Regions from separate parts of the Homo sapiens genome. Here regions 1, 2, 4, 5 and 6 are each linked to region 3. The links are contacts of gene promoters, found by promoter capture Hi-C in blood cells and fetal thymus (Javierre and others, 2016). All regions are on one chromosome and are shown on one strand. The core of a region is centred on a gene start or on the middle of the fragment in contact, and the rest is flanking DNA. Distances in the headings are between cores, read along the strand shown. Region 1 overlaps SAMD12 (sterile alpha motif domain containing 12). Region 2 holds the start of SAMD12 (sterile alpha motif domain containing 12). Region 3 holds the start of EXT1 (exostosin glycosyltransferase 1). Region 4 overlaps SAMD12 (sterile alpha motif domain containing 12). Region 5 overlaps SAMD12 (sterile alpha motif domain containing 12). Region 6 overlaps SAMD12 (sterile alpha motif domain containing 12).

Evidence for each region. Contacts are between HindIII fragments. The CHiCAGO score rates a contact against its expected background, and 5 or more counts as called.
Region 1: a fragment that was not itself captured here is called in contact with the fragment with the promoter of EXT1 in region 3 in 3 of 17 cell types (M0 macrophages, endothelial precursors and M1 macrophages); the score reaches 6.2 in M0 macrophages.
Region 2: a contact is called between the fragment with the promoter of SAMD12 here and the fragment with the promoter of EXT1 in region 3, in 4 of 17 cell types (naive CD4 T cells, naive CD8 T cells, non-activated CD4 T cells and 1 more). The highest score is 8.6, in naive CD4 T cells.
Region 4: a contact is called between a fragment that was not itself captured here and the fragment with the promoter of EXT1 in region 3, in 1 of 17 cell types (endothelial precursors). The highest score is 5.3, in endothelial precursors.
Region 5: a contact is called between a fragment that was not itself captured here and the fragment with the promoter of EXT1 in region 3, in 1 of 17 cell types (endothelial precursors). The highest score is 5.1, in endothelial precursors.
Region 6: a fragment that was not itself captured here is called in contact with the fragment with the promoter of EXT1 in region 3 in 1 of 17 cell types (endothelial precursors); the score reaches 7.9 in endothelial precursors.

Annotation. Positions count from the first base shown.
Region 1 is chr8:118,395,035-118,398,330 of GRCh38, reverse strand. All of the region lies in intron 3 of SAMD12 (sterile alpha motif domain containing 12), which reads left to right. The region is part of intron 5 of LOC105375724 (a long non-coding RNA gene); the gene reads right to left. Among named protein-coding and RNA genes, the nearest start is that of SAMD12-AS1, 220 kb to the left of the region's middle. The HindIII fragment of the contact is 4,339 bases long and covers 1-3,296 here.
Region 2 is chr8:118,620,713-118,623,821 of GRCh38, reverse strand. It overlaps SAMD12 (sterile alpha motif domain containing 12), which reads left to right and starts at 1,859. Exons shown (of 4, transcript NM_207506.3): 1 at 1,859-2,018. The coding sequence starts at 2,006. It overlaps SAMD12-AS1 (SAMD12 antisense RNA 1), which reads right to left and starts at 2,821. Exons shown (of 5, transcript NR_038210.1): 1 at 2,636-2,821; 2 at 2,167-2,287. RefSeq lists a silencer at 1,517-1,666 and enhancers at 1,767-1,966, 2,577-2,786, 2,817-2,866. The HindIII fragment of the contact is 1,953 bases long and covers 140-2,092 here.
Region 3 is chr8:118,110,384-118,113,429 of GRCh38, reverse strand. It overlaps EXT1 (exostosin glycosyltransferase 1), which reads left to right and starts at 1,604. Exons shown (of 11, transcript NM_000127.3): 1 at 1,604-3,046. The coding sequence starts at 2,384. RefSeq lists silencers at 1,182-1,561, 1,662-1,751. The HindIII fragment of the contact is 5,337 bases long and covers 811-3,046 here.
Region 4 is chr8:118,376,182-118,379,515 of GRCh38, reverse strand. It overlaps SAMD12 (sterile alpha motif domain containing 12), which reads left to right. Exons shown (of 4, transcript NM_207506.3): 4 at 1-1,532. The coding sequence ends at 99. The region is part of intron 4 of LOC105375724 (a long non-coding RNA gene); the gene reads right to left. Among named protein-coding and RNA genes, the nearest start is that of SAMD12-AS1, 240 kb to the left of the region's middle. The HindIII fragment of the contact is 467 bases long and covers 1,166-1,632 here.
Region 5 is chr8:118,511,363-118,514,562 of GRCh38, reverse strand. The region is part of intron 2 of SAMD12 (sterile alpha motif domain containing 12); the gene reads left to right. Among named protein-coding and RNA genes, the nearest start is that of SAMD12-AS1, 110 kb to the left of the region's middle. The HindIII fragment of the contact is 2,166 bases long and covers 765-2,930 here.
Region 6 is chr8:118,441,288-118,444,246 of GRCh38, reverse strand. All of the region lies in intron 2 of SAMD12 (sterile alpha motif domain containing 12), which reads left to right. Among named protein-coding and RNA genes, the nearest start is that of SAMD12-AS1, 180 kb to the left of the region's middle. The HindIII fragment of the contact is 3,938 bases long and covers 1-2,959 here.

The sequences.
Region 1 (3,296 bases), core at 751-3,250, 280 kb before region 3:
ATCGGCCAGGTTCAAGTGATTTTCCTGCCTCAACCTTCCTAGTAGCTGGGATTATGGGCATGTGCCACCATGCCCAGCTAATATTTTTGTATTTTTAGTAGAGATGGGGTTTCACTATGTTGGCTAAGCTGATCTTGAAGTGCTGACCTCAAATGATCTGCCCGGCCTCCCAAAGTGCTGGTATTATAGGCATGAGCCACCACACCTGGGCAATAGTCATATTATTTAAATTCTCAAGCCCTGGCTTGGCGTGGTGGCTCACACCTGTAGTTCCAGCACTTTGGGAGCCCGAGGCAGGTGGATCACCTGAGCCCAGGAGTTTGAGATTAGCCTGGGCAACATGGTGAAACCCTGTCTCTACTAAAACAAAAATTATCCAGGCATGGTGATATGTGCTGATGGTCCCAGCTACTGCGGGGCTGAGATGGGAGGATCGCTTGAGCCCAGGAAGTCGAAGATGAAGTGAGCTGTGATTGCACCACTGCACTCCAACCTGGGTGACAGAGCGAGACCCAGTCTCATTAATTAATTAATTAATTTGCAAGTCCCATTTTCCTCATTTTTAAAATGGGGATAATAGTTGAACCTACCCAGAGGGTTGTCACAAAGATTAAGGAATGAGAAATTGTTCATAGTTATACCCAGCCCAGCATAATTCGAATGAATTGTGATGATAATGTTTTTATTATAATACTGATGATGTGAAAGGTTTATGGTTCAATTTCAATGTAATTTCTTTACCTATGTGGGGTCAAACAAAAGATATCTACCCTAGGAGAAAAACTCAGTTATCGAGTGACCTAGACACGCTAGACTCTTCACTGTTCCACAATCTGTAGACTTGGGGTTTCTGTGCTTCAAGGACCTTATATTGCAAGGTGTGTTCTAGTGACTCCACCTTGCCAGATTTATCAGCACTCAACAGACAACCAGTTGCTTTTTCCTGAACCATACTTCTCTGGGATCTCATTCTCCCAGATTTTTTTCCATGTCTCTTGTCGCCCCTTGGGAGTGTCCTTGTTGGTTCATCTCACTGATCTACCCACTCAGGACCTCAGTTCCTCGAGGGATGTCAGTCCTAAGACCTGTGATCACACTTGCTTTCTTCTTGCCTGTGGGTTTGTATGTCAGTTCTAATGATGGTGGCTCCCAAGCTAAAACCTCAAACCAGACTTCTCCTTGGAGCTCCAGCCTGTATAGCAACATGCCCACTTTGTATTTCTATTGAATATCTCATAGATGTGGGCAGTTTGGATTTATTACATGTCCAAACCACAAGTATTGTTCTTTTTCCTCGTCCTTGCTCACTCAATCTTCCCCATGGTAGCAGTTGCACTTTCTTTTATTGCCCAAGCCAGAAACATGTGTCTCACCCTTGGCAACTTCTGTCTTGCTTCAGATACCTCATTTCTCACCAAGTCCTTTAGATTCTGCATGCAAAATTTCCCCTCTCTGAGTATCTTCCTGTTACCACCTCTCTAGTAGAAACCACCATAAACTATGGGCTCAACAGAAGCTCTAGGTTCCGAACTGGTTTCTGTACTTTAAAAATCACCTCGGTTATCAACTGGCACATGATAAGTCATTAATGGTTTATTAAATGAATGCTGAACTAAACAGGCGCAGCCTTCCTAAGTAGAAGTAGCATGGTTCTTGTCTTTGCTCTGACAATTACTAGTCTTACGACTTTGGACAAATCTCTTCACTTTTCTGGGCCCATTTCTTAACTTTAAAATGAGGATGATAGTATTCTCCCTTTCTCATAGAGCCATTTATTCACTCAGGAAAACTTTAATGAATATCTACCAATTGCTGAGTGCTGCAGTTACTGAGATAAATACAACCCATGCTTTCTTCATAGAGAGCCCAGAGTTTAGAAGGAAGAACAGGCATGTGAACATATTCATGATTATATTATAATCGAGTAGGTGTAACAATGGAAGCCTACACAAGGTACACCTTTATGTAATGTTTAATTTGAAATGAAGGCATTGAGTCAGGTATTATACCAGACACTTTCTAATTTACTGCCTAATTTAACTTTCACATAGAAAACTCAGAGTGATTAAAATGATAATTATCATTTTACAGATGAGGAAACTGACTCAGTGGCATTAAATAAGTTACTCAAGCTCACAGAGCTTGCATGTGGAGACACCAACCTGCAAACCCAGGCTTTTTACTCCAAGTTCAGGTCTCTTTACTCACACGAAACAATACATAATTAAAATATAAGTTATTGAACACCTTATTGCTGGAAGAAGAATGAATGGACACTGAACTGAAGCATTTTATAACCAAATCTAAATCAGAAGAGAAAATTATACAAAAAAACTCACTTTTTTCTTCAACTTTCTCTTTTTTTCTAACTTTTTCTGGGTCTATTTTTTTTTTTTTTGAGATGGAGTCTTGCTCTTGCGATCTTACTCACTGCAAGCTCCGCCTCCTGGGTTCACCCCATTCTCCTGCCTCAGCCTCCCGAGTAGCTGGGACTACAGGCGCCCGCCACCACGCCCGGCTAATTTTTTGTATTTTTAGTAGAGATGGGGTTTCACCGTGTTAGCCGGGATGGTCTCAATCTCCAGACCTCATGATCCACCCACCTCGGCCTCCCAAAGTGCTAGGATTACAGGCATGAGCCACCGCTTCTGAGTCTATTTTTATGATTCTGATAAATTATAGAAAGAGTCTTATTGATTATAGTATGTACTTATTGGTACCCACAGCGAACAAAGTGTTACTTAAAACAATGGCTTGAACTCTTTGAGGTTGGAGAACCTTGTACATGACATTTTGGTCCCTGAACACTGGCCTCAGGGTGTTTGCTAAAGAAAACCCAAGTGAACATTGCTTTTACTTTCTTTCTAAATAATTCATGAAATTTTTAGTGGCATCTTGGAGTCTTAAGAGACAGCTCAATTTGAGAATCACTCTACGTATCTGAGATACACGTTCTGTAATAATAGAATTATGAAAAGGGAAAGAAGGACATCTAAGTGGCCTGGGCCTTCAAGCATAAGTCGTGAGTGAGCAGTGAATGAGGGAGTGTGGTACATAGGCTTTGGCATTCATGCGAGTGTTTGTAAATATAAATTGGCATGGATGTACCATACATTTCACCTGAGGGTATAAAGGGTCACATTGCTGACTCACCTGTAGCTAGCCCTCAGCTTTTGAACCCATTATCATCCATTGCTAATTTATATTATGTGCCAGGAACTGTGCTAAGTGCTTTTCTCTGTATTAATTAATTTAATCTTCATAAATATTCCTATACTGTTAACATACCCACTGAT
Region 2 (3,109 bases), core at 610-3,109, 510 kb before region 3:
CCAGATATTTAAAAGCTTGGAACCAGACCAATGGTTTTCACCCTCAATGAAGACTGGAATCACCTGTGGGTTTTTAAAACCTGAGTGCCTCTACCCAAACCCCCATAAGCTCTGATTCTGTGAGACTAAGATAAAAGCTTAGGAATATATATTTGTAGAAGGCTGATGCACAGCCAAGGTTGAGAACCATTGATACTACCTGTCCTATGGCTTTCTTTCACATTCATTCAATCTCAGAAAATACTTAACACTTTGGTGATTTTATATACATAAAGTAGTGAAGCACCTGGATTTCAGTTCTTTCCAGAGTTTAGAATGCTTGGCTGTGTATTAGGTCGGAAAATTCTTTTTCCCATGGAAATTATGTCTCACTGAATGGGTCTCTCTCTACTGTACCTAAAAGAGAGGCTTAGGTTTGACTTGTACACAGCTCCATGGACTCAGAATTAAAGTATCAACAAGAGCATTTAATGGTTACACGCAGGTATTTTTTAAAGTACCTATACACATATTATTATTATATATTACCCAGTAGGGGAACTAAGCATGTAATTAGTGACCAGAACAACAGGTGTGCATGTATACACTGAGAAACGAAATTGTTTTGAAAAACATTTTTTTTTTTTTGCTGATGACCAAGACACACAAAAATGTCTAAGTAGTCATCATGGGAAGAATCCGATTTTTGTACTTCCTCATTTTACAGAGATTAACATTATATATGAGTGACTGGGTGGATGTGGTACCAAATACATTTGTAAACTGAAGGCCTTTAAAAGTCAATCCAGTCTTGAGCCAGATTTATTCCCGAGGCTATTCCCTTACCCCTTCCAGCCACAACTGTATCCGTATTTTCACACGCAGGAAAAAATGTTTAGAAACTTAATTTTTACGAGCTGTCGAATTGTATTGCTATCCACGTGATTCCCATTATCATGTCTGCTTATAGCATCCCCAGCACCTACAGCTAGGACATAGGTTCAGAAGTTGAAGGAACCTGATTCTCAGGCACTGTTAATTATTAGGCCCTATCACAGGCTGTCAACAGGCTCCAAGTCTAGGCAAATTGAAAGCCTCCTATCCTGGAAGCCAGACAGGCTTTCATCTGACCTCCTCCGGTGCAATCCTGGCTCCCAGACTTTGTTCCTAACAACCCCTTGGGGACGTTGCCTATTGGGGTTTAAGCCACTCCTCCTCCCCTACACCCCCATGCCAAGTATTTAGCCACCTGAACCACCCTGTAGGATAAGACAACTGTATCAACCGTCGGAATTCCCCCACAAAACCCATACATCTCAGGGTGCGAAGGAACAAGTTTCAACCTCACCCTGGGCAGCGTTCTCTGGCCCAGGTGGAGAACCACACAGGAGGACAGTGGTCCTGCTCTCCCTACTAAATGGTGGTTCAGGAGGCCAGGGGGCGGGGCGGTACCGGCGGCAGAGGCCCACGGACGAGCTCGCAGGAGCTCATCACACAGCTGACCGTCACCTGCCCACCTCACCACACCTGCTAGGTGCCAAACCCCTTGTAATGGACAGGGAAGGGCTCAATCACGGGTCCCTACTCTTAGCAGCGAACCTATCTCAGCGCACGGCCTCCTGGGAGATGTAGTCCAGACCGCTTCCCGGGAACCCCCCCCCCCTCCCCCCCCGCCCCGCCACAACCAGGCATCCCTGGTCCCCTCACAACTTCCCCAGGAGAGATTGCTCGGCCTGGCCAGCTGAAGCTGGAGTTGCTCTCCAAGTGTCGGGGCCAGGCGGCACTCCGCGGAGGAGTCGGGGTGCTCTCCCCAGTCCGAGCGAAGGGAGGGAACTACACTTCCCAGGACGCCCTGCGCGCGCCGAGCCGGGAGCCGGCTGCCTCGCTTTGCGTGACCGCGGCAGGTTGGTCCTGGAGCAGATAAGCGCAGAATATTTAGGCGAAAGCGAGAGGAAGGGGGGAGCGCGGGGCAGGAGGAGTACCTCGGCCAAGAAAATTATGCATGCGTTAGGGAAGCTCTGAGAGAATGGCTGTGGAAGGTAAGGGACGCTTGGGGCATTTTTAAGCTCCCTCTTAACCCGCGCACCCCAAGGCACACATCCCCGATGAAGCTTGGCGATCGTGGGGAGGCGAGGAAAGGGGGTGGCGGAGAGCGGGCCCCTTCCTCCTCCACCTCTTGGCACTCACCTGCGCCGCCAAGGCCAGTAGGCGCTTTAATTCAGTTGCTTTGGAGAGACGTGAAGGGTAGGTGCGTAGGACTTTGAGGTAGGAGGTGTGGAGACGAGTGTCCCTGATGCGAAACGATATCCTGGAAATGGGGGGAAAGCCGGAGGATCCGGCATGAGGTTTTGGCCCCGAGATGCCCTTTTTCCCTGCCCCCTCCCTCCGGAGCAGGCTGGGTGGCCCCGGGGCTGGGGATGCTTGGTTGGCCCCCCTCACGTGGGAGAGGTCCCCAGCCCAGGTGCGTCATCCGGAAGCTTGGACTGGGATTGGGTCGAGGGCCCTTCGTCCTATGCACCCAGCAGCGGCGGCCGCAGATGTACCCAGAGGGTAGAGGTGTCCCTACACCTGTCTCTGCTTATACAGCCAGCGCCCCGGGCTTAGCAAAGTTTACAGACATGAAATGTAATCAGCCAGGGAAAAGAAGTGCAACAACCTCTTCGATTTGGGTGAATCCTTTTCTTTGAAGATCACTTTCTTCTTACAGTCTTGAGCTTCGGCTTTGCAGTTTTGACCGTAAAGTCCTGCCTCCCTTGAACTTCCTGGTTGAAAGCAGGGTCAGGCTGTTCGTGAGGGATCCTGAGTTTTTCATTTCAGGTTATCTTACCTTGGAACACAAACTTCCTTGTTTAGGTAGTTTCTGAAGAAGAAAAAAAAACTGTGGACCGGAAGGGTTTGTGATGTCACATTAGAGGTCAAGCTGTGCCTGAATGATGAAATGATTGTGGGACGAAATGGGAGCCTACATTCACCTGCAGAATTTTGGTTTCTGAGTGCAGTCAGGTCAGAGGGCGTACTGAAGTAGGAAGAGGAGGGCTTGCCTGCCAGCTGCTTCAGGCGCCTTGCCAAGGGGAAATCAGCCTATTCCTTGTAGGCTAGAGACGAGAAGGCCACGAGGCTGGCTTGCTGC
Region 3 (3,046 bases), core at 355-2,854:
GTGCAGGGGGTTCAAGTCAAATCTGGAAAAGCTGTCTCATCTTTGGCAGGTCAGAAATAGGGAGAGGCTTCACGAATGTATAGTAATGTCCCACCCATGCCCCTTCCCTGCTTTATTAAAACAAATCTGAAACAACAGAGGTCTGAAACTTTCCACTCTATCATTTCATACTGCCTTGTTATAACCCTGCCCTTCATCCACACCCCGCTGGGGTTTTTGCAGCCTGAGGGAAGCCGGGAAGTGTCTGCTCCTAGCTCTCAGTCACTCCCATAATAAACAATCACTAAACAGCCGGCTGCCCTAGGCAACTGTCTAGCTTGCCCGAGCCCTGAGACTTTAGCTAGGCCAGAGGGTGGGAGGTGTTTTCTGTAAAGCAGTGTTCAGGATCTGAGGCCAGGGAGTTTGACTTTGACCAGAGATACTGTTTGGGAGCCTAGCACATCTTTGTGGACCTGGAGGATCTTTAGCGGGACTGCTCCTCGGTTACCTGAGTTATCTAATGAAGTTCTTCCACTGGGAGTGGCAGGAGCTTGGGCCAAGGAGTGGGAGGTCAGTGAGGGAAGGACCAACTATTTGGCACTAATTGTACATAAGGTAGTTTTCCTGATGCAAGTGTTCCTTCTATAGCTGGGACAGTTGGCAATTCTACCAGTCATATGTCCTTAAGAGATATCTTTAACACCACCACCACCACCACCACCACCAAGAGAATAACATCACTTTGAGGACTGGGGCAAGCTTAAATTAACTGGTTTCCCTGCAGCCATTAGAAAATTTATTTTTTCTCTGTGATTGGATCTCTTGGAAGCTTTCTTCATAATAGACAGAGGGGGCTCAGGCAAGGCGGCCTAAGTAGATAATGAGGATTTAGGATAGCCGTCTTACACTCTTAGCACAGAGGCAGGCATGAAGAATTGCAACAATTCCTCTTGATTGTAATAATTCCTCTTTATTGTTGGGCATTGGGGTGTTTCTTTGGTTTAAAAAAATGTGCTATGTAGAGGAGGAGTAAGGGGAGATTGTTTTAATGCTTAGCAGAAAATTGAAATACTGGGTCTCGGAGAGTGGAAGGAGGGCTGGGAGAGGCAGCTTTCGGATCGGCGGTCGCTTTCTATGAAGTCTTCCTTTCCTCCCTGCTTCCCTCCTTCAAAGCATCTTTCTCTAGGCGTTCCGGCAGGCAGCCCAGGAGGCCAGATTCTCCAGGGCGCCCGGGGCCGCGCGGCACGGGGCCCCTGCCGGTGCCTCCTTCCCCGGCCGCCGCGTTTCCGCAGGCGCCTCTGGTCCCCGGCACGGCGCAGGCCGAGATCCGGGCCTGGGCGCGCCGAGGGGCCGCGGGGCTCGCACCGGGCCGTCCCGCGCTCCACCTGCCCGGCAGCCCGCCGGCAGCTTGCAACCCGGGAGCCCCGGCTCCCTGCGCCCCCTACGCCCCCAACGCCGCGCCGGCGCCTCGGCCCGCGGCCGGGGGTTATGAATGGGCGCAGCGGAAGCACCGCCCCCCCCGGACGTGACGCTCGGCCAATGGCAGCGCGGGCTGCGTGGATGGATGAGGTCAGCGCTGTCGTGTCGGGAATGGAATGTGTAAGTGTAACATTCAGAACCGGGTAACATTCGGCGACCGAACGCGGCGGTCGGCAGCGTTCGCGCGGGGGCCTGCGAAGCGCTGCTCGGGGCCGGCACTGCCCGCGGGGAGGACGCGCCGCCGCCGCCACCCAGCGCCGCCGCCGCCGCCGCCTCCAGCCGGGCCGCCGCGCGTCCCGGGGGCCGGCCCCGCGAGCGCAGGAGTAAACACCGCCGGAGTCTTGGAGCCGCTGCAGAAGGGAATAAAGAGAGATGCAGGGATTTGTGAGGTTACGGCGCCCCAGCTGCAAGATGCACTAGCCGGCTGAACCCGGGATCGGCTGACTTGTTGGAACCGGAGTGCTCTGCACGGAGAGTGGTGGATGAGTTGAAGTTGCCTTCCCGGGGCTCATTTTCCACGCTGCCGAGAGGAATCCGAGAGGCAAGGCAATCACTTCGTCTTGCCATTGATTGGGTATCGGGAGCTTTTTTTTTCTCCCCTCTCTCTTTCTTTTCCTCCGTCTTGTTGCATGCAAGAAAATTACAGTCCGCTGCTCGCCCGCCCTGGGTGCGAGATATTCAGCCCCGCTCTCTCCCGTGCATTGTGCAACCCAAAGATGAAAGACCGAAGGGGAGAAAGTTAAAGAAATCGCCCACATGCGCTGGATCAGTCCACGGCTTGGGGAAAGGCATCCAGAGAAGGTGGGAGCGGAGAGTTTGAAGTCTTTACAGGCGGGAAGATGGCGGACTGGAGCTGAAAGTGTTGATTGGGAAACTTGGGTGATTCTTGTGTTTATTTACAATCCTCTTGACCCAGGCAGGACACATGCAGGCCAAAAAACGCTATTTCATCCTGCTCTCAGCTGGCTCTTGTCTCGCCCTTTTGTTTTATTTCGGAGGCTTGCAGTTTAGGGCATCGAGGAGCCACAGCCGGAGAGAAGAACACAGCGGTAGGAATGGCTTGCACCACCCCAGTCCGGATCATTTCTGGCCCCGCTTCCCGGACGCTCTGCGCCCCTTCGTTCCTTGGGATCAATTGGAAAACGAGGATTCCAGCGTGCACATTTCCCCCCGGCAGAAGCGAGATGCCAACTCCAGCATCTACAAAGGCAAGAAGTGCCGCATGGAGTCCTGCTTCGATTTCACCCTTTGCAAGAAAAACGGCTTCAAAGTCTACGTATACCCACAGCAAAAAGGGGAGAAAATCGCCGAAAGTTACCAAAACATTCTAGCGGCCATCGAGGGCTCCAGGTTCTACACCTCGGACCCCAGCCAGGCGTGCCTCTTTGTCCTGAGTCTGGATACTTTAGACAGAGACCAGTTGTCACCTCAGTATGTGCACAATTTGAGATCCAAAGTGCAGAGTCTCCACTTGTGGAACAATGGTAGGAATCATTTAATTTTTAATTTATATTCCGGCACTTGGCCTGACTACACCGAGGACGTGGGGTTTGACATCGGCCAGGCGATGCTGGCCAAAGCCAGCATC
Region 4 (3,334 bases), core at 150-2,649, 270 kb before region 3:
AGAAAGACCACCTTACTATTAGGACAGACAGGAGTCAGGGAGAATTTGTTATTGTTTCTTCACAGAATTTCCATCATAGAAAATAGTATACAGATTTAAGATTACTTCCCTTTGAAAACTTTTTTCATAGCTCACTAGGGAGAAGGATGCACAAATAAGTAATGGATGAGCAAACAGAATTACCTGAGCTAACTTCAAGGTGGTCACGTACAGTTGTATGGATTGTGTACTGCACAACCCCAGAGAATACCAGTCACATCAATCAGGGTACGATTGCACTCACTAGAGTTGTATAATGTGCAGCCTGCACAACTGTACAGTCCAGCTGTAGCTATCTTCACCTGCGCCAATTGTGAGGGCGCTTTAGCATTTGAGTGATTCAATAGTTACGATGACCAGTGATATAAGTGGAGTTTTTGTTGTATTTTTGTTTTGCTTTTCACCGGTTAGTGGGAGAAAAACATTTTAGATATGTATTACTATACATGAATGTATTATACACACACACTTTAGAGATTGTAAGAACCCCATTTAGCTTCTTGAAAGTGGAATAATTTTTATAATAGACTATAGTGAATCTAAAACTACACTGTTAAGAGTATATAATTCTTAACAGGAATTATAAATAACTTCAATATGATGAGAGCACTTAAGATCTCAATAACTGTGGAAGTGACAAAATAAAGCTAGAATTCGAAGAAAGCCTTAAGTTACACTATATGTAACTGATATGTCTACATGAGATTTGGATGCTATCAACCTTCATTGGCTATAAACTTTATTTGTTTTATTTTAGCGTCCATTGTACATCGTTTTAAATGAAAGGATGATAAAATATGTGTTTTTGAGAGCCTTGAGTATTTGTCATTCTGCAGAATATTGTAATTGCATGCATACCGATATTGGAGAAATCTGGGTCAGCCAAGTTTCATGTTATTGCATTTAGATTAACCTAGTAATAGTCCATTTGCCTAGAGGAAATAATGTGCTCCCTGAAAGATGACTATTCTAGAAGGATAAATATAGATTTCAAGTGATCGTAAAATAGTATTGTTTGTCTCATATGCATTATTTGCATTTTGTCCTCAGAGATTTCCAATGGTGAATTTACTGGTATACTAAGTGATTTAAATTTGAATGTGAAATACTGATAGGCTTTTAAGCTTCTTTTAAGAAGTAGATAGAAATACGAAGATTATGATAAGAAAGTCTGTCACAGTGCTATTTGGAAAACGGAAAATTTACAAGCAACCTAGAGGTCCAGCAATGTGAAAAGAATCAAGTAATTCTGCTTAAATTCATAAGATTCAGTATAATGCCCAGTTATTAAAATTACATCTTTAAAGAATACATGACAACATGGGAAATTACGTAAGTCATACAAGGTGGGAGGAAAGGTCATGTGTAAAATTGTATGCATAATATAAGCCCAATTTTGTAAAAACCATATATTCTTATATGTACAGAAAAAAAGGACTGCAAGTAAATATGCCAACCATTTTAATAAAGGATCTCTCTGGATTGTGGGATAAGTGGGTGACTTAAATTCTTATTTTTCTGTATTTTCCAAATCTTCTGCAAATTCATATTACAATTATAATCAGAAAATACACATATGCATTTTTTTAAGCTTCAACCACAAGCATAGCTGCCCAGCTTCTGTTTAGTGTCTGGTTTTTGCAGCTCATTCTTTTTCCCTCTGGTGATGATCTATATAGAATGAGACCTAAACTCACATGTGACGCATTATGTGTGCCTTTGACTCTTTTCCTCTACTAATGTCAGCCTGCAGTGTGTTTGCTTTGGAGAATCATTTTCTACAGCTCTCATTGCCCTAGATGCATAATATATAAGATTTTTCCTAAGATAGTACTCAGGTCTATTAAGCTAAATATACATACGTGTTCTGGGAAGATAATGCCCAGTTCAGTCCTTTGAATTCAGTTGTTGTTGTCACTTTCTTGAGCTTTGAAAAGCTGTACATTTTTAATTCTTTCATTCAGTTCCCTTTGGAAGGCCGCATTGTTCTCTAGCTCTTGGGTATTTTGTCTGTGCTGATATTACCTTTTTTATTGCTTGTTCTTTACATAGGTTTTTGGTTTTGGTTTTGGTTTTTTCAAGACAGAGTCTCACTCTGTTGCCCCAGCTGGAGTGCAGTGGCGCAATCTTGGCTCACTGCAACCTCCACCTCCGAGATTGAAGTGATTCTCCTGTCTCAGCCTCCCAAGTAGCTGGGATTACAGGCATGCACCACCACACCAGGCTAATTTTTTGTATTTTTAGTAGAGATGAGGTTTTTCTATGTTGGCCGGGTTGGTCTCGAAATCCTGGACTCAAGTGATCTGCTCACCTTGGCCTCCCAAAGTGCTGGGATTACAGGCGTGAGCCGGTTCTTCACATGTTAATGCTCAAACTCATGTTATGTCAGGCATCCTTCAGAAAATACATAGCCTTATTGAAGTAATAGTTTCTTTTTTAAAAAAAAAAGGAAACAAAATTGATAAGTTGTTTTTATGTTTTATGATTAATAGTAGAAGTTGTAAAGACAGATTAGCGTTAAAATATTTTGGGTCTAGGTTTGCTATAATAAAAATATTAGAATTTCATTCCACTCAGGTGAACTTATTAGTTTAAAATATATATCATATAGAAATTCACCATAGGGGTAACAGATGTTTCAGTAATGAATATTTGATTCTTCATCTCTGTAAATATTACTCAGCAGAAACAATATGCTGAATAAGTACAAACAAAGACTTTGGAATGTTTTTGGAAATCCTTGGGCTTCCCTCTTAAAGAGGGTGAATCACAGTTCTTATCCATAGAGATGGAGTATCCTTCCATGGCTCACGTGGGGCTGTCACTCTGGTGTAATGCATTTAATTGTTTGTTGTTGATGATTATCTAACATGTTCAGGCTGCGGTAACAAAATGCCATAATCTAGGTAGCTTATAAACAACAAAAATTTCTCTCTTACAATTCTGGAGGCTGAGAAGTCCAAGATCAGGGCGCCAGCAGATTCAGTGTCTGATGAGGGCCCACTTCCTCACAGATGACCTTCTAATCATTGTAATGTCACATGGGGTGGGATATCTGTGGGGCTGCTTTTACAAGAGCACCAATCCCATACATGAGGGCTGCACCCCCGTGACCTGATCACCAAGCAAGGGCCCCACCGTCCAATACCATCACCTTGGGGGTTAGGATTTCAATACATAAATTTTGAGGAGACATAACATTTAGACAATTGCATTAATATTTAACAAATATTTACTAACCAACGCATTTTAAGAAGAGTTATCACTTTCAAAGTCCATTTTTGAGGAAAGGAAT
Region 5 (3,200 bases), core at 598-3,097, 400 kb before region 3:
CCACTTTAAATACCTTATAGATAAAAAGAGAATGAATAATCTTTGAGAATTTGTTAGCCTTCCTCATCCTGTGGCAGTGAAGAGAGTAATGGAATGAGAATGTCTGACTTACAGATAGTGCTCAATAAATATTTGCTGTGAATGAATGGAAGTGGGAATATGAAAGGCCTGTGGGACCCCTTTTGGCCTTCTCCAGAGCCTGCTGTAAAGCTGATCTGAAAATGGGAATAATAACAGCTTTCTTCCAAAACTGCTTTAAGGAGGAATTGAGAGGAAGCATTTTGTAAACATATGGCACTATATAAATGTTCAAAATTTCTATTGTGGTCCCTCAGCCCATCTTAGGGAACTTCATGGTTAACCCATTAGAGAGTTGTATGGAAACTTAAAAAATCATTTTAAATGCCTTGTGATGGGGAGGGTTGCTGATCTCATGTACTTTATACAGCAGAGGCTACAAATTTGAAGTTTGGCAATAGGTGTGTTTGCCTGACCTCCCCAATGCTTTAAAAGTTTTATGCAAATTATATACCAGTATTTAATAATAAAAATTTCGCTTAAAATATGCATTTTAGCTGTTTGTTAGAAAATCAGGTTTTCTAGAAACTTTTGACCTGAATTCCCACAAAGAAATAATAGGCTGGGATGGAATAGTGATGGCTCCCTGTAGAACACTATTCCTTTTTGGTTAGCAATGATTCCCACTACTGCCCATTTTCCCCCAAAACTGAGGGCAAGTGTCATTTGCTGTTGATAGTCAAGCTTTGTTTTCCCTCCTTTTGGCCTCTCTGCTCATTTGCATTACCTGTCTAGTCCCCAGTAGACAATAGAGTTTGTGAACTCTGCCAAGGGGCTCTGTCACCACTACATCCACCCCTCCCCATATTCTCCCAACCCCAACTGTCTACTTGATTGAAATACTTGCCTTAGGGGCATTTTCTTATTTTCTCTCTGGAACAACCAAATTATTTCCTTTTTAAAGCAGAAAGAGTCAGCTTTAAAGACTGCTCTGTGTTTGATTTGGTCTTTAATGTGTATAGGAAGATGTACATATTTTATGGTTTGTTGATTGTTGGTTTTTCTTTGGGAGGGTAGGTGGCTGTTTTGGGAAGCATCCTCTTTAACAGGGTAGTTATAAGTTTACAGCTTAAGATGTACTCTGTTGGCCTTTGCAATCCCCACAGCTTTTCCTGCATCCTCTAACTTTTAATATGTCTTGATCAATGTATTCAAACACCATTTCCTTTAAAATGTTTTCAACTCTATTCATCTTTATTGGGTTTTTAAAATATTTTATTTCTAAAATTTCTCAAATCTCTTTTAGGCTAGTTGCATTTGGGATGGGCTGGTGATTTAATTTGTATGGGTTCTGGTTTTGCAAGAGAAAAATCAAATGACTAGTGCATGTCTGAAATGCATCAACTATGTAGTATTTATTTTGCCAAGACAATTTACTAGGCTGTGAGAAAAATAAAGATGATCCCTGCCCTCAAATTGTTCCCAGTTTAGTGAAAAAGATACACATATGACATAACTGTAAGAAAAAAAAAAAATATAAGTATTCAGTAATACTAAAAGTAACTTACCTTTGTATGGCTCTCAGTAGTGCACAAAACATCTTTCACATGCGTTACTTGATATAAGCAAGAGCTTTGCAGAAGAGGAATCATTAAAACTGACTGGAAGATTGGGAAAAGCGTCACAGAGAAAATGATACTTAAACTTGGCTTTGAAGAATAGTCTATAGCCTGAACAATGGAGAAAAGGGTTAGAGGTCACATTTCAAGCCAAAAGAATGACATGAGCAATGTCAAAGAGGCACAAAAGGGCAAGGTATGTTTGAGTGTGGCTAGTAGATTAGTATGAATTGATCTTAGAAATAAGGGGACAGTGTTTTAGTAATATTATTGCAAAAATGAGTGGGACTAAGTAATGGACAACTCAGAATGCCATGCTAAGGATTTAAGGACTAAAATGGAAAACTCAGTATTTCTAACAACAGTCTGATTTTATTTTTCTTTGTTGTGGTTTCATAAAAATATCATTTATTGAGTATCTGGCATGACCTTATTTTAATGCAAGCTGATATATGTTCAAATTATTCAGAATTTGTTCAACTGTAAGTGTCATAAAAGTAACTCAGTCTATTTTATGCAATCATAAAATAGATATTTATTGGCTCACAAAACTGAAAAAGCCAACAGAGCTCAGCCATGGCTGAATTCAGGACTCACTCCATGTCATGAATCCCATCTCCTAGGTCTGTTTTGTCTTTCTTTGCTTTACTTTCTGGTGCTATCTCTGCATATGGCAGTCCCCAGCCACAAATTCAATAGAAAAATGTCTCTTTCCTGGAAGTTCCGCCAAAGTCTTCAAAGTTAAGGAAACATTCTGATTGTATTCACTGGCCCAATTAATATTCATGCCTGGGAGTATTAGATAGGTGCTCCAAAAACAATATAGATCCTATTTCCAAATGAGGAGGAGTGGATGCAGAGTTGAAAGGTGAAAAAAAAAATGTTCTTTATAGTGCTCCAGTTTCCTTTCTTAGAAAAGTCTAACTACTGATTGATTGATTGATTTACTTATTTAGGGTTGGAGGTGCAGATTTCATTGACAATCAGAAAGGGCAAGTTTGATTTGTCTTTTCATCCTAAAAGTAGCAACAAGTGTTTGCAAAAGGCTGGCTCTTTGTTCAGTGCAGATTTGTATATGTCCCTCTTGTGTTTTACAAAATAAATGGGCACCTTTAATGTCATCACAATGGGAAATGATTTAACTACAATCACATTGTGTCTGTTGAATTTTCCACTAAATGATCTATATGCCATTGTGAAGCCCCATGCAAACCTTTATTCCACTGTAGATTTTGTGTTGCGTAGTGTTGAGAAATATTTTTAATGGTCTTTTACCCCCTTTACTTTAAAGCTTGCTATAGAAGCTTGAATGTAGGAAAATTCCTCTTCAGCCAGAACTGTAGAGTTGCTAGGGCCCCACCATTGTAACTGACAGCAGAGGTTCAGCAAAGTTAGTTCTGAGGTTTGCATTATCAAATCTACCCAGATTTTCCAATCTACAAAACATCTATTCACGTACATTTAAAAAAAAAACAAAAACAAAAACAAGAGGTTTCCAAATTTGTCAATTGACCTGCTAGACAAGGCATAATATGTTGCCTAAAATAATACCATAAACCGTGA
Region 6 (2,959 bases), core at 288-2,787, 330 kb before region 3:
GAAAAAGAACTGGGGCAAATGTTTTTTTAATGTTTGCCATTGGGCAGGATGTTTTTTTCTTATGAGCTTACTGTTTCTAGTAAAGGTGAAATGCTTTATTTCTTTGCTTTATGGACTATTATTATTTAGGCTTAGGCCCCTACTGCGGGAAGAAAAAACCCAGCAGCATATCAGAGAAAGTCATCCTCTAGGGATGGCTGTGAAGAGAGTGTAGGTGTTGGATGTTGAGGAAAGGAGACGAGGCGGTCGAAGGCATTGACAGCTCTGCCTCTCTTTTCCTGCCTTCAGTGGGAAAATATGTTGAATTCAAGTGATAAGGTTTAACATGTACTTCTTGTTGTTCTAATTGTACGTGGAAGTGAAGTGTAAGCTCTTTAAAGGAATCAGGTTATGCCATTCACTCCCAACATTTGGTAGCTGTTGGGGATGGAGGAAATGTTGATGGAAGGGGGAGTAACTGAGATTGACCCTGGATGCTACAAAAAGAGAAGTTCAGGCAGAACAAATCAAAGTCAGCTCTGAGAATCCCAAAAGAAGCAGCAGACTGGGGTAACTGGAGTCATTACAGCTCTTAAAGTGTGGCAAACTAATAGTAATTTCATTAAAATGCCAAGGCTGAGAATCACCTGATAAATGGTATCAATACTTTTATTACCATCTGATTAAGAAGAGACAAACAGTAGGAATCTTTATTACCCTCATTTTACTTATTATGTCTGTTTACATGGAGGCATTTTTGTAGGCTCATACCATCTTAATTTTTTTTTTTGAGACAGTGTTTTTTATTTTTTGAGACAGTGTTGCTCTGTCACCCAGGCTGGTGTACAATGGCACGATCTCTGCTCAAGGCAATCTCCACCTCCCAGGTTCAAGCGATCCTCCTGTCTCCCGCGTAGCTGGGATTACAGGTGCATGCCACCATGCCCAGCTAATTTTTGTATTTTTAGTAGAGATGGGGTTTCACCATGTTGGCCAGGCTGGTCTTGAACTCCTGACCTCAGGTGATCTGCCTGCCTCAGCCTCCCAAAGTGCTGAGATTACAGGCATGAGCTACTGTGCCCAGCCTCATACAGTCTTAAAAATCTATGCCTAAAGTTTTGAGTATATGCTCTTACTAGTATATGCCTAGTAAGAGTATATGCTGAAGAATAAAGCAAAGCAACTCCTTGAGTGTTAACCTCAGAATCTCTGAATTTATGATAAAAGGAAAACTTAGAACAAAAGCATACATGGTGGGCTGGTGAGGATGCATTCTGAGTCAACTTAGTGTGTTTGGGTAAATCTCCACCTGAAGCCCAGCTGAGGCTGAGCGTCCTCCCTTTCCCAGGATATGAGCAAGTTAAAGAATGTTCTTCCAAGAAGGAAAAAGTTTAATATATTGATGTATAAGCAACTTTATCTTTCTGCCTTTCCCTTCCTAATTTACGCCTCTGTGACTGGTTTACAGGAGTTTTCAAAAGATGTGATTAGCTTTACTTGCAAGAGTTTCAGGGTAATGATGTGTCAGCTATAAACTCATTCAGCTAATCCGAAGGAACATTTGTAGAGCAGGAAAGAACTAGATTCAGAGGTGCTGACTTGTGAAACATGGTGGTAAGTGATTTCTAGCTAAAAGATCTAAAATTCTAGCTTCCTAGTTGTGCAAAGGAAAGGAGGTGATGATGAGCAAAGAGAAAAAGAAACCTAAACATCATCAACAATAAAAACATTTATTCATTTATACCCTCCATGCCCAACGTCTTCCTCTCTCATCAAAATTAGGCAAAGTCAATATGGTTTCCCACAGATGTTAGAGGGAAAATGGCTGCAGCCCATTACCCCAGTATGAAGGGCTGCAGGCATGTTTGATTAGGAGCCATGTAGGCATAACACACAGCAGGGTAGAGAAGCAAGGGCTGAACGTGAAAGTCACTGCTGATTAAATAGCAAGCTATGTCTGTGAATGCTGTTTCATTTCATTAATTCATTCACTTAATCCTTGTGGATGTACACGGGATCTACTGAAAACAAGACACTCTGGGGAACACAAAATTATAACAGATCTCACCCTCCCATCTTCACCATGTATTCCACTTACTAGGATTGCAAAACAATTTACCCTAAAACTTAGTGGTATTAGACAACTGTTTATGATGCTCATGGATTATGTGGGTCAAGGATTCACTCAGGGCACTGCAAAGATGGCTTGACTCTCTATTGTGGTATCTGGGGGCCTTGGCTGGAAGATTTGAAGGCTGGTGGCTGGAATCATCTGAGGCTTGTTCATTCATTTGTCTGGTGGTTGGTGATGACTGTCAACTGAGACCTTAGCTGGCAAATTGACCAAAATTCCTACACATGGTCTCTCCATGTGACCTGGGCTTCCTCACAACATGGTGGTTGGTTTCCAAAGGTCAGTGCCAGAGAGTGAATCAGGCAGAAGCTGTTTCTTTTTTATGACCTAACCTCAGAAGTCACATAGCATTAATTCCACTGTACTACATTGGTCAGGAAGGTCACATAACCCTGCTGAAATGGAGTAGGAGGGAGCATCAACCCCACATATTAGTGGAAGAAATGTCAGTCCCATTGAATGAAAAGCAGATACATATGTATGTATATATGTCTATATGAAAACATACATATATGAATATATGGACATATATAAAATCATCTTTGGAAAACACCATCTACCACAATTAATAAAAGAAAAATATCACAGTACAAAATAAAAAGTGATCAGCATTGTGATTATTTTGAAAGCAATGGCCCAAGGACTCATATGACTGGAAATATACGAATAAAAAAAAAACACCTGAGCATTGTGCTTTCCAACCTTGAATCGCTTCCGTATTACTTCCACTGTTTTCACTATGACTCTCTCACCATCTGCACCATTGTTTCTTTATTTTTTTATTAAAAATTGGCCCAAGGGATAGTTGTGTCTTTAAACTCAAATTTGTTTAAAAAACAAAGAAGA